3 separate regions of the Homo sapiens genome follow, and regions 1 and 2 are each linked to region 3. The links are contacts of gene promoters, found by promoter capture Hi-C in human tissues and cell types (Jung and others, 2019). All regions are on one chromosome and are shown on one strand. Each heading gives the region's core, a stretch centred on a gene start or on the middle of the fragment in contact. The rest is flanking DNA. Distances are from core to core; before and after follow the strand shown.

Region 1 (3,889 bases), core at 800-3,299, 770 kb after region 3:
CGGGCCTAGCCTCCGAGCCTACATCTTTCTCCCATGCTGGATGTTTCCGTCCCTTGAACAATGGACTCCAAGTTCTTCAGTCTGGGGACTCGGACTGGTTCTCCTTGCTCCTCAGCCTATTGTGGAACCTTGTGATCGTGTAAGTTAATACTTAATAAACTCCTCTATCCTATTAGTTCTGTCCCTCTAAGAGAACCCTGACTAATACAGGCCTCATTGCTGCCTCTACTGTCACCTACCAGGGAAGCTGGGCCATTCTCGTCATCTGTGGACTCCGTCTCAGCTCTGCTCAGTTTTGGGAAGAACTCTAGGCTCTGCCATTGTCACCCCTACATTGACATGTTAATATCTCTATTTAAGAAACTTGTGCAGGGCCTAGAGTTGGGCAAGGCTGGACCTTGGGAGAGAGTAGAATCTGACACTCCCTGCTCTTGGAGTAATGCTGAAAACACAGAGGGGCACAGCAAGAGGAGCAAGGTGGGGTGGCTTCCTGGTGGAGGTGGCATTTGAGCTGGGCCTGAAGGGTCAGGCAGTCAGTCCTTTTACATATGGAGAAGTGTGCTGGGGATAGGGGAGGGGGTGCTGCCTCGTGGGGAGAAACAAGGAGAGCACAGAGCTGGGTGGTGCAGGGCATGTGGGGGCCACAACTGGCTGGTGTGTGTGGCTGTGAGGAGGGAGATGGGGTGGGAGGGGAGGAAGGCTGGGGAGCCAGTCAGGCAGGGCCAGCTTGTGAGGGCCTCAAATGCCCCACTGAAAAGCTTCCACTTTGTTCTGAGAACAGTGGGGAGCCACCTAGGGATTTCAGTGAGAAGAGTGATGCAATCACATGTGCATTTCAAAAAGATGCCCCATGAAGGAGAGATTGGAGGGAGGAACAGGACTGAAGTCTTGGGACCAGCCAGGAGGCTGGTGTGAAGGCCAGGGTGATGCTGAGAGCAGAGGGTGATTTGGGGGCTGTTCTGTGGCAGGATCAGCGGGACTTGGTGCTGCCTTGCTGGGATGAAGATACCAGACCTGTAGCCCCAGCCCTGCCATGTCTTCACTGGCATTGGCATACGATGGCCTCAGCTACTAACCTGAGACCTGCGTCTGTACAGAGCCCCGCCCTCCCTCACCTGGAGGCCCGACTCCTGCCCCACACCTTCCTGGCGGCCTCCTTCACCTCCTTGTTCCTCAGGCTGTAGATGGTGGGGTTCAGCATGGTCGTGACCATGGCATAGAGGACTGTGAAGACCTCATCAGAGATGTGGGCTTCCTTACTCTTGGGCTTCAAGTACATGAAGATGATGGTGCCGTAGAAAAGCAGCACTACAGCCAGGTGTGCCAAGCAGGTGGAGAAGGCTTTGCAGCACCTGGCGGCCGAGGGCACCCTCAGGATGGTGGCCAGGATGAGCAAGTAGGACAGGCAGATGAATGCCAGGGGTACAGGCAGCAGCAGGATGGAGCCCGCCAGCAGGAAGTCTTCGCTGACCGACGTGTTGCCGCATGCCAGCTTCAGCACTGCCAGGATCTTGCAGGTGAAGTGACTGACCACGTGGTGGCCACAGAAGGGCAGCCTCATGGAGATGACCATCTCAGTCACCGACTTGAGGAGGCAGAGGACCCAGGCAGCTCCCATCAGCAGCACGCAGAGCCGGTGGCTCATGAGCACGTGGTACCTGAGTGGCTGGCAGATGGCCAGGTAGCGGTCATAGGCCGTGATGGCCAGTAGCAGGCACTCCGTGGAGCCCGTGGACAGGCTCAGACACATCTGGATGGCACAGACAGCAAAGGAGATGGTCTTCCGGGATGACAGGAGGTGGACCAGCATCAGAGGCACAAAGGTGGGCGTGTAGCAGATGTCCAGGGTAGAGAGGTTGCCCAGGAAGAAGTACACGGGCGTGTGCAGGTGGATATCTAGCACGCTCACCGCCATGATGGCTGTGTTCCCCAGGAGGGTCACCAGGTACATGGCTGAGCACAGAGGGAAGAGCAGATGCTCCAGGGCTGGGTAGCCAGAAAATCCTTTCAGAAAGAACTCGGACACCTCTGTTCTGTTGAGCGGCTCCATGCTGCAGAGTTCTGAAGAGATGGTCCACAGCTGGGATGGAAGGAGAGAGGGTACAGGGTGCGGGGAAGCTCACAGAGCCCTTTCTGGGACGAGGTGGACTGTCAGGATCTTTTCCAGCACTGCCACACTCACTGTCTGTGACGTCGGGCAATCCCTTTATCCTCTCTAGGCCTCAGTTTATCCATGTGAAAAATGAGCATTGATTTAGATCAGCATTCCCTGAGAGAATGTTAATGAGAACATTAGTAAGCAATCTGAAAAATCAATTTGAGACAACATTGGATTAATAAAAAATAAAGCTCTTTACTGCAGGACTTCTCAGAGCGTTTACTACGCTAATGTGATCTATGACTCCTGCAAAGCAATGTAGAACATCTGTACCCCAAACTTATTTGATCATGGATCCCCTTTTACAGAAAACCCATTAACCTACTGCAGATAAGTGTTCTATGAGCATAGTCTGGGAAACAGTAGGCTAGATCAACAGTTCTCAAACTTTAACATGCACCAGAATCACCTGGAAAGTTTGTTAAAACAGATTGTTGGGCCCCAAACCCAGTTTCTGACTCGGTGCGTCTGGGCGATGCTTCTGCTGCTGATGTAGGTACCACACTTTGAGGAACTAGTGGGCTAGGTGGTCTCTGAGCAGGTGGAGATTCTCCTGGCTTTAAGGAAGCCTCTGAGCCATCGCATTTGCTATTCCTTCTGTCTGGAATGTCCTCGGCCTGCAGTGGTCTGACCTGTCTCTTCAGGCCTACTCTAGTATCCATGAACAAAGCATACACCGTGCTGTGTGTTGGAGGGCTGCTGACCTTGAAGCCTATCGCTGGGCATGTTCCCCTGTCCCCTGCCCAGGGCCTGTTTCATTAGCTACCCTGTGTGGATTGGACCTTCACAATCTGCCTTCCTGTGGGTTTCCCAGCTAAAATCTGATGGAGCTTTTGGCCCAGCTCCAAACCCCTATGTTCTGTGGGCCAGAGCGAGGGCTGCTTTGACTTCATGAACTCCTAGGGTATTAGCATGGAACATGACCAGAGGCCAACTTGTTGGATCTCCCATTGTATAGATGGGGATGCTGAGGTCACACAACAGGTCTCTGGTGAGGTGAAGCTAGAATCCAGCCCTCCCAACAGTGTGACCCCTATACCATGCTCAGAGCAGGTGTATGCTTCTATTAGGTTTCAAACAATGCTTGTTCTTTTACCATTCTAGATGGATATCAGTGCCCCAGGTGCTGCCACAATCCTCTCACCAGCAAAAGAGCATGAGTCACCTCTCCTTAGTGTTCCAGGGTATCTGGCACGGTGTCATTAATCCCATGGGACACGATGCCAAATCCTGGGCCTGGGTGGAGCACAGTTCCTCTCAGTGCCTTCCTTGCAGGAGACCATTTCCGTCTTTTATTCCACCCTCACTTACTCATCCCAGAACCTAGAAGTAACTGAGGACCTGCTACATGTCAGGTGGTGCCAGATGTGAGGGAGCACTGATGACAGGTGTGCTCCCAGGCTGCTGAGTGCAAACCCTTCCTAGGCAGAGAGGACCCCCAAGTCTTCCATACCCAGCCTCACCGTCCCCCCACTCTTCCGTACCCAGCCTCACCCACCCCTCCCACTCTCCCATACCCATCCTTGTCCTCCCCCACCCTCCCATACCCAGCCTCCCCCTCCCCTGACTCTTCCATACCCAGCCTCACCCACCCTTCCCACTCTCCCATACCCAGACTCACCCTCCCCCCACTCTCCCATACCCAGCCTCACCCACCCTTCCCACTCTCCCATACCCAGCCTCACCCTTCCCTCACTCTTCCATACCCAGCCTCACCCACCCTTCCCACTC
Region 2 (3,653 bases), core at 1,129-3,628, 730 kb after region 3:
CTCATATGGCATGCTGCTGTGGCTTGTTAGGGAGCTGGAACTTAAAGATTGAAAGACTGAAGTAGTTCGAATCCCATCAGTAGATGGTAGCAGAGAACCATGTCCCAGGAGGGAGTCTGAACAACACCACTTGGGCAGTCCAAGAGCAGGGTCCTTGGCATATCTTAAAACCCTGGAGGTCAGACCATGGAGTTCTAGAGACTGGCAATACCAAGCCAAAGTTGGGGTTGGCTCCTGAGAGTGCAGGGGAATGCTGTCACATAAGGCAAGACACTGCACGCAGCCTGGTTTTGTCTAGGCACCACACACATCCTCCTCCCTTAATGATGTCATTCATGTTCAAAGCTTTAACTACTTCCAGTTGTGTACCAATGACTCCTAAATTCACATTTCTAGCTCAGACCTTTTTCAACCTCTGTACTTCACACTCATACCCACCTGCCTGCTGGCCTTCTCTTCTCTTCTCTTTTTGTGATGGAGTCTCGCTCTGTTGCCCAGACTGGAGTGCAGTGGCGCAATCTCGGTTCACTGCAACCTCCGCCTCCCGGGTTCAAGTGATTCTCCTGCCTCAGCCTCCCAAGTAGCTGGAATTACAGGCGTGTGCCACCATGCCCGGCTAAGTTTTATATTTTTAGTAGAGACGGGGTTTCACCATGTTGGTCAGGCTGGTCTTGAACTCCTGACCTCAGGTGATCTGCCCTGCTTGGCCTCCCAAAGTGCTGAGATTACAGGAGTGAGCCACCGTGCTTGGCCCCTGCTGGTCATTTCTAACTGAGTGTTTCCACAGACAGCAAAACTGAACTTTGGGAATTATCCTAGTCTTTTCCTTTTCCCTTAGACTCCATCTTCAAATAGGCACCAATAACTCTATTTCCTATCTTCTAAATATTCCCCAAATGCATTCTCTCCTCTCCCTTCCAATTTTATTCAAGTTCTCATCATCTTCAGCCTTTGTGTAATAACTTTGCCCCTCTACTTCCATCCACAGCATTTTAATCCATTCACCCATTCTTTCATGGATTTATGTAACTTATACTTTTACAATGAGCCTAATCTGATGCTTTTACTGACCCGCTGTGCTAAGCTCTAGATTGAGTTGAGTCTAGGAGAGAGACCGATTAACCAACAATGGCAATACAAATAAATTGATGTTGTTCTGGGGTGAGTCTAGGATACGGTGGGGAGGGGGATATACCTAATTTATCCTGCAAGGATGTAGTCCTCCTTCCTGACCCAATCAGGATCTTTCTAAAGTGCAAGCCCAACAACTGGCACTTTGTGGCTTAAAAACATTCCATGACTCAGTCTAAAGGATTAAGTCCAAATTTCTTGGCCCTGGCATTCAAGGCCTGTCATCATTTTCAACACAGCCTGAGGATTCCTGCCTTAACTTTCCGTGCTCCCTACTTTACCCCCATGTTCCAGAGACGCTAGATATATCACTCCTTAAATGCATCAGAGCCTTTTTGAAGGGGATGTTTGGGAAGGGAATTAGGGGCAGAGGTAGGATTACAGGGAGGAAGATGACCAGAGTCAGCTAGAGAGAAAAGGGGCCTAAGAGTGGAGAACCAGAAGATGGGAGGTGAGGAAGGGGAAAGAGAAGGGGAGGAGGAAATTGGGTGGAGGAGGAGAGTAAGGATGAAAAGTACAGAATGTGGGCCAGGCATGGTGGCTCATGCCAGTAATCCCAGAATTTGGGAGGCCAAGGCGGGTGGATCACTTGAGGTCAGGAGTTCGAGACCAGCCTGGCCAACATGGTGAAACCCAGTCTCTACTAAAAATACAAAAATTAGCTGGGCATGGTGGCAGGCGCCTGTAGTCCCAGCTACTGGGGAGGCTGAAGCAAGCAAATCACTTGAACCTGGGAGGCGGAGGTTGCAGTGAGCCCAGATCGCACCACTGCACTCCAGCCTGGGGGACAGAGCGAGACTCTGTCTCAAACAACAACAACAACAACAACAACAACAACAACAACAACAACTACTACTACTACTACTACTACTACTACTACTACTACTACTACTACAACAATGTGAAGGGACTGAGGGGTGGGAGAAAGACAGATGTCTTTGAGGGAAGAGGGCAAGGGCCGTTGGAGAAACCACCTACCCTCTGGGCTTTGGCTTGGTTGTTACAAGTCCTTAGGTCAAGACCTTGACTTAGGATGGCAGGGGGAGGTGTTGATCCTCAGGGAGGAAAGGCTCTTGGTTGTGGATGTGCCTCAGCTGCAGGTGCTGAGTGTTGAAATGCCTTGCCTGAAAGTCTGCTATCTGGGAAGGGGACTTGGATATCTGCAGAACTTCGCAAAGGAGCTCTGGCATGACCTGGGGAAGTGGGTAGGGACAAGGGGTCTAGGGCCAATGAGGGAGGGTCTTGACTGAAGCCTCCGGAACCCGGGCCAGGAGAGTAGGCGCCGGTCACCAGGGCAACCGGAACGCCTAGTAGTCTCCGTGGCAACGGCGGTCTGGTCACCTCCCCGGTGGGTAAGGTCTCCTGAGGGGCTTGCATTGGGCCTCGAGGGGGCGAGCCCAGAGGGTTTACTTCTGAAAAGTGGGGTGTGTGTTGCGGGATCTCTGTGAGCGAGTGTTTGGGTAGGATCTGCGGAGATCTGTGCGTACGTCCGGGGGAGTCTGGGATTGTGAGGATAGGGTTCCTTTGAGACATCTGTGGGGCGGTCGTTGGGGGCTGTGAGGATCTGAGGGGACCTCGGGCTCTGTGCTTGGGGTGAGAAAGGCAGGGTCTCGGGTAGCTGAGGCGGGGGCGGAGTCTGTGTGTCCTCGAAGCCCAGCAGGACTAAGTTGGGGACCAATAGAGTAGGGCGGGGGCGGGCTTTACTGACAGGGACCAATCGAGCCGGCCGGGGGGCGGGGCGTCACGCCGACGTCAAGTCGAGGCCGCCGCCGCGGGGCCTGGTTATCGCCGGTTCAGCGCAGCCCGGAGTCGCCCAGGCCTGAACTCCTACCCAGGTCCCCGGCCCCCGCCCCGGGCCCGCGAGGACACCGGAGGCCACCCCCCGGGGGTGGGGAGCGGAGCCGCGGGCCAGCTCTGCGAGCGCCCCGCGCTGGCCTGTCCGGCCCCGCCCCCGCCCCGGGCCATGGCCCAGCCCTTGTCCCGGCCCCTCGTCCTATCCCAATCCCCGCCTTGGCCCCCAGCCCCGCCCTCGCCCCGCTTCCCACATCGGCCCCAGCCCCTGCCTGGGTCCCCATCCAGGACCCCCTTCCAGTCTCTGCCCCTGGCCTGGCCCCCATCCCGGCCTCGGCCCTCGTTCCACCCCCTGTCACAAATCCCAGCCCAGGCCCTGTCCCAGCCCCATTCCCAGTGTTTGCTTAAGGCCCTGGCTCAACCCCGTCCCTTGCTGCAGTCCCCATCACAGCCCTTCCTTCCATCCCACTCCCTGCCCTTGTTCAAGCCCCAGTGTCCAGCCCAGCCCAACCCATTATCTCAGCCTTTGCCCTCATCTCTGTGTTTACCCAAGTCTCTCCCTCTAGTCCCCCCTATCTCTCATACTCTGCCCCTCTCCCAGCCTAGACTCAAGTCTGGGTTTCAGCTGCCGCCAGCCCTATTGCTGCTGTTGCTGTTCTCTGTCCTTGGCCCAGGGGCTGGTGAGTGCAGAAGCAGGGAAGATTGAGGCAGGAATGGGGTTCCGGCAGGGA
Region 3 (3,851 bases), core at 1-2,500:
TATCAGCACCAACACAACCCGCGAAAATCGGGAAGCCATCCAGCAGGCCCCAGGTTTCCCTTGGCTCCCCCATGGCAGGGACCCAGGGCCTGGGGGCTCTTGGCAGCTGCTATGGTTGGTGAGCTCCAAACGGGTGAGCAGGAAGCCACTGGTGAAGAGGGCAATGCCAGCGTAGAAGAGGAAGCAGACCCAGGCCAGGAAGAGCAACACTGAGGCTTTCTGCATCCTGATAGGGGTGGGGAAGTAAATTCATTACTGTGGGGCAAAGAACCAGTGGATATTCTGGTCCCTGAATACAAGCCCAGCTAGAATCACTTCCTCCCGGAAACCTTCCTGGAGATAAACCATTTCACAGCCAACCCCTCGCAATATTACTCTCCTCCTATTTCCAGGCTGGGCATGGTGGCTCACGCCTGTAATCCCAGCACTTTGGGAGGCCGAGGCGGGCGGATCACCTGAGGTGAGGAGTTCGAGACCAGCCTGGCCAAAATGGCGAAACCCCGTCCCTACTAAAAATACAAAAATGGGTGGCGGGCACCTGTAGTCTCAGCTACTGGGGAGGCTGACGCAGGAGAATCGCTTGAATCGGGGAGGCGGAGGTTGCAGTGAGCCGAGATTGAACCACTGCACTAGAGTCTGGACAACAGAGGGAGACGCCGTTTCATGAGGTCCCACCCCAGATCTACTGAATCAGGATCTTCGAGGGGTAGAGCATAGGAACGTTCACATGTACAGGCAGGAAATGCTAATGCTGCCTGTACATGTGAACAGTCAGGAGGGAAACTTATTCCAATTGGTAGTCAGGCTCTCTTACACGCCGTTTCTGCGCCTCTCCCCTCGCCAATCTCAATACCCAGTGGAAAGGGATCGAAGCCGCAGGGGAATCCGGGCCCAGCCGACGGCGCCGCCTGGCGGGCACCGAGGGGACGAAGGGGAGGAGTCACTCTCCGCTTCCGGGCGGCCAGGTTCGCCAGGAGACCTGAGGCACGACCTTCGCCACGCAAGGAGGCTGGGGCCCGGGTCGAGAGTCGACTGGGCCTCCGCTGGGACCCAGGCGTGCGACCGGCTCTGCCTCCTCCGGTAACTACCCAGCCTCCCGCTGGGCACCCTAGCCGCGGTACTGAGCACCTTGGTTAGGAGCTGAGGGGAAGAGGGAGACTCCCTTACTTCAGGGTGAGGGGAATACCGGGGGGTGAGGTTCTCGGGAGACCCTGGCTCACCTGCAATGGCACCCGGAAGTGCGGCGGCGGCGGCGCCTGCGACCTGGCAGCACAGAGATGCGTGCGCCAGACAGAGTGGCCCGTCGGTGGCTCCATCGCCATCTGCCGGCACCTCGGTGGAAGTTTGGCCAGGAGCGTGGGGCTGGCCCCAGTTTGATGGGATATTTAGTAATTGAAAATTGGGGACAGGGGACCAAGCTGGAGGAAGAGTTCAGGGAACCACTGTCCATTCATGGTTACGACTAAGAGCACGGCTGCTGGAGTCAAACTTGACTTGAATCCTAGCTTGGCCGCACATATTGTCATCATTAGGCATTACCTCATCTGTAAAATGGAGATAATACTTATTTTCCCTTTTTTGCTTAGCTGAGTCCAACTGAGATTTCATTACTCCTCCTTTCAAAGCCTGTAACTAAATCTTACGACTGAATAATTAAGCAAATAATCCTTCGGAGTGGAGGAGGGGAGGCTGGGCCCAGTGGTTCACACCTGTAATCCCAGCACTTTGGGAGGTCAAGGCAGGTGGATCACCTAAGGTCAGGAGTTCAAGACCAGCCCGGCCAATATGACGAAACGCCGTCTCTACTGAAAATACAAAAGTTACCCGGGAGTGGTGGCGGGCGCCTGTGATCCCAGATACCTGGGAGGCTGAGGCAGGAGAATCACTCGAACCCAGGAGGCAGAGGTTGCAGTGAGCCGAGATTGCACCACTGCACTCCAGCCTGGGCAACAGAGCAAGACTCCCTCTCAAAAAAAAAAAAAAAAATGCCAGGCACGATGACTCACACCTGTAAGCCCAGCACTTTGGGAGGCTGAGGCTGGAGAATCAGTTGAAGTCAGGAATTGGAGACCAGCCTGGCCAACATGCTGAAACCCCAACTCTACTAAAAATTACAAAATTTAGCCAGGCGTGGCGATGTGTACCTGTAGTCCCAGCTACTGAGGAGGCTGAGACTGGACAATTGCTTGAAGCCAGGAGGCAGAGGCTACAGTGAGCTGAGATCGTGCTACTGCACTCCAGCCTAGGCAACAGAGCAAGACTCTGTCTCAAAAAGAAACAAAACCCGTCCACTGGTTTCTCATCTCAGAGTAAAAGTTCTTGCATTGGCTCTACATGGCCCTGCACACTATCTGCCTCTTCCCCTTCTGATTCATCTAGCTGCCACTTCTTTGCTTCCCTAACTCTGTTCCATCCACAGCAGTTCTGCCTCAGGACCTTTGCATTTGCCATCTCCTCTGTCAGCTTCAGTTCCCGATGCCGAAATGGATCTCCATCACCTTCATATTGAAGCTCAACTGTAACATCAGCAAGGCTTCCTGCAATCCCCTACTTTACTAGTTCAGCACCTCCCACCACCACACCCCCTGGAAAAATTTCCCCTCACTTCCTTAATTTCTTCCATAGCACAACTCATCAGCATCTGAAATTCTACACGTATTTATGGTTTATCCCCTCCGAGTAGAATGTGAGCTCATTGAGGTCAGGGAATTCTGTTTTCTTCATGATATCCTCAGCACCTAGCATATATTTGAGGTTCACATACTGACCAAACGAATAAAGGAATATGTTAATTTTTAAAAAAAGTTGAGTTATTCTTCCACCTTCATCCCCATAGCCCCTTATCTCAGTTCAGACCTCATCCCTTCTCCAGGATCACTGAGGCAGCCTTCTCACTGTCCTCCCAGCCTCCTGTGTCTCCCTACTATCCCTTCTCCACATTGCAGCAAGACAGCTCTAACTAAAACATTAATGTGATTACTGTTATTTTTTTCTTTTTTGTAGAGATAGGGTCTTACCATGTTGCCCAGGCTGGTCAACTCCTGGGCTCAAGTGATCCTCCCACCTCAGCCTCCCAAAGTGCTGGGATCACAGGTATGAGTCACTGTGCCTGGCCAATGTGATGTTTTATCTTAAAATTCTTCATGGGAAGGGAAAAAAACCCTTCATAGGCCGGGCACAGTGGCTCACGCCTGTAATCCCAGCACTTTGGGAGGCTCAGGCGGGCAGATCACGAGGTCTGGAGTTCGAGATCAGCCTGACCAACATGGTGAAACCCTGTCTCTACAAAAAACAAAAAAATTAGCCAGGTATGGTGGCGCATGCCTGTAATCCCAGCTACTAAGGAGGCTGAGGCAGGAGAATTGCTTGAACCCGGGAGGCGGAGGTTGCAGTGAGCCGAGATCATGCCATTGCACTCCAGCCTGGACAACAGAGGGAGACGCTGTCTCAAACAAACAAACAAAAAAACCCTATTACCCTAGGGATAATGTCCAACCCCTTCAACAAGAATCTCATTCCTTGTGACTTGGCCCTTGCCATGTAGTCACATCCCCCTTAACACTATACCCTTCAGCCAACTTCTCTCAAGCAGTGAGCCTTTGTTTATTCTAGTCCAGGACCTGACTTGGTGAAAACTTGCTAACTTTTCCAGCCTGAGTTCAGTGGCAATCAGCAACGCTGCTACTCATAAGCTGATATGCTCTTCCCACCAAGATCCCTCAGCCAGAACTTTCCTCTACCACAGCATTTATCACTTTTTTTTTTTTTTTTAACAGAGTGTCTCACTGTTGCCAGGCTGGAGTGCAATGGCGTGATCACGGCTCACTGCAGCCTCCACCTCCCAGGTTCAT

The links. Contacts are between HindIII fragments. The study calls those that stand out against the background at their distance.
Region 1: a contact is called between the fragment with the promoter of OR13J1 here and the fragment with the promoter of PIGO in region 3, in 2 of the 25 tissues and cell types used here (small bowel and spleen).
Region 2: a contact is called between the fragment with the promoter of FAM221B here and the fragment with the promoter of PIGO in region 3, in 1 of the 25 tissues and cell types used here (spleen).

What each region holds. Positions count from the first base shown.
Region 1 is chr9:35,868,352-35,872,240 of GRCh38, forward strand. It overlaps OR13J1 (olfactory receptor family 13 subfamily J member 1), which reads right to left and starts at 2,050. Exons shown (of 1, transcript NM_001004487.1): 1 at 1,112-2,050. The coding sequence starts at 2,050. The coding sequence ends at 1,112. The HindIII fragment of the contact is 8,885 bases long and covers 191-3,889 here.
Region 2 is chr9:35,826,354-35,830,006 of GRCh38, forward strand. FAM221B (family with sequence similarity 221 member B) reads right to left here and starts at 2,379. Exons shown (of 7, transcript NM_001012446.4): 1 at 2,110-2,379. It overlaps TMEM8B (transmembrane protein 8B), which reads left to right and starts at 2,875. Exons shown (of 13, transcript NM_001042590.4): 1 at 2,875-3,602. The coding sequence starts at 3,095. RefSeq lists enhancers at 1-103, 3,467-3,653 and a silencer at 2,732-3,181. The HindIII fragment of the contact is 23,285 bases long and covers 21-3,653 here.
Region 3 is chr9:35,095,341-35,099,191 of GRCh38, forward strand. PIGO (phosphatidylinositol glycan anchor biosynthesis class O) reads right to left here and starts at 1,251. Exons shown (of 11, transcript NM_032634.4): 1 at 815-1,251; 2 at 1-226. The coding sequence starts at 225. It overlaps PIGO-AS1 (PIGO antisense RNA 1), which reads left to right and starts at 964. Exons shown (of 2, transcript NR_186491.1): 1 at 964-1,080; 2 at 2,420-2,804. RefSeq lists an enhancer at 918-1,257. The HindIII fragment of the contact is 8,015 bases long and covers 1-2,976 here.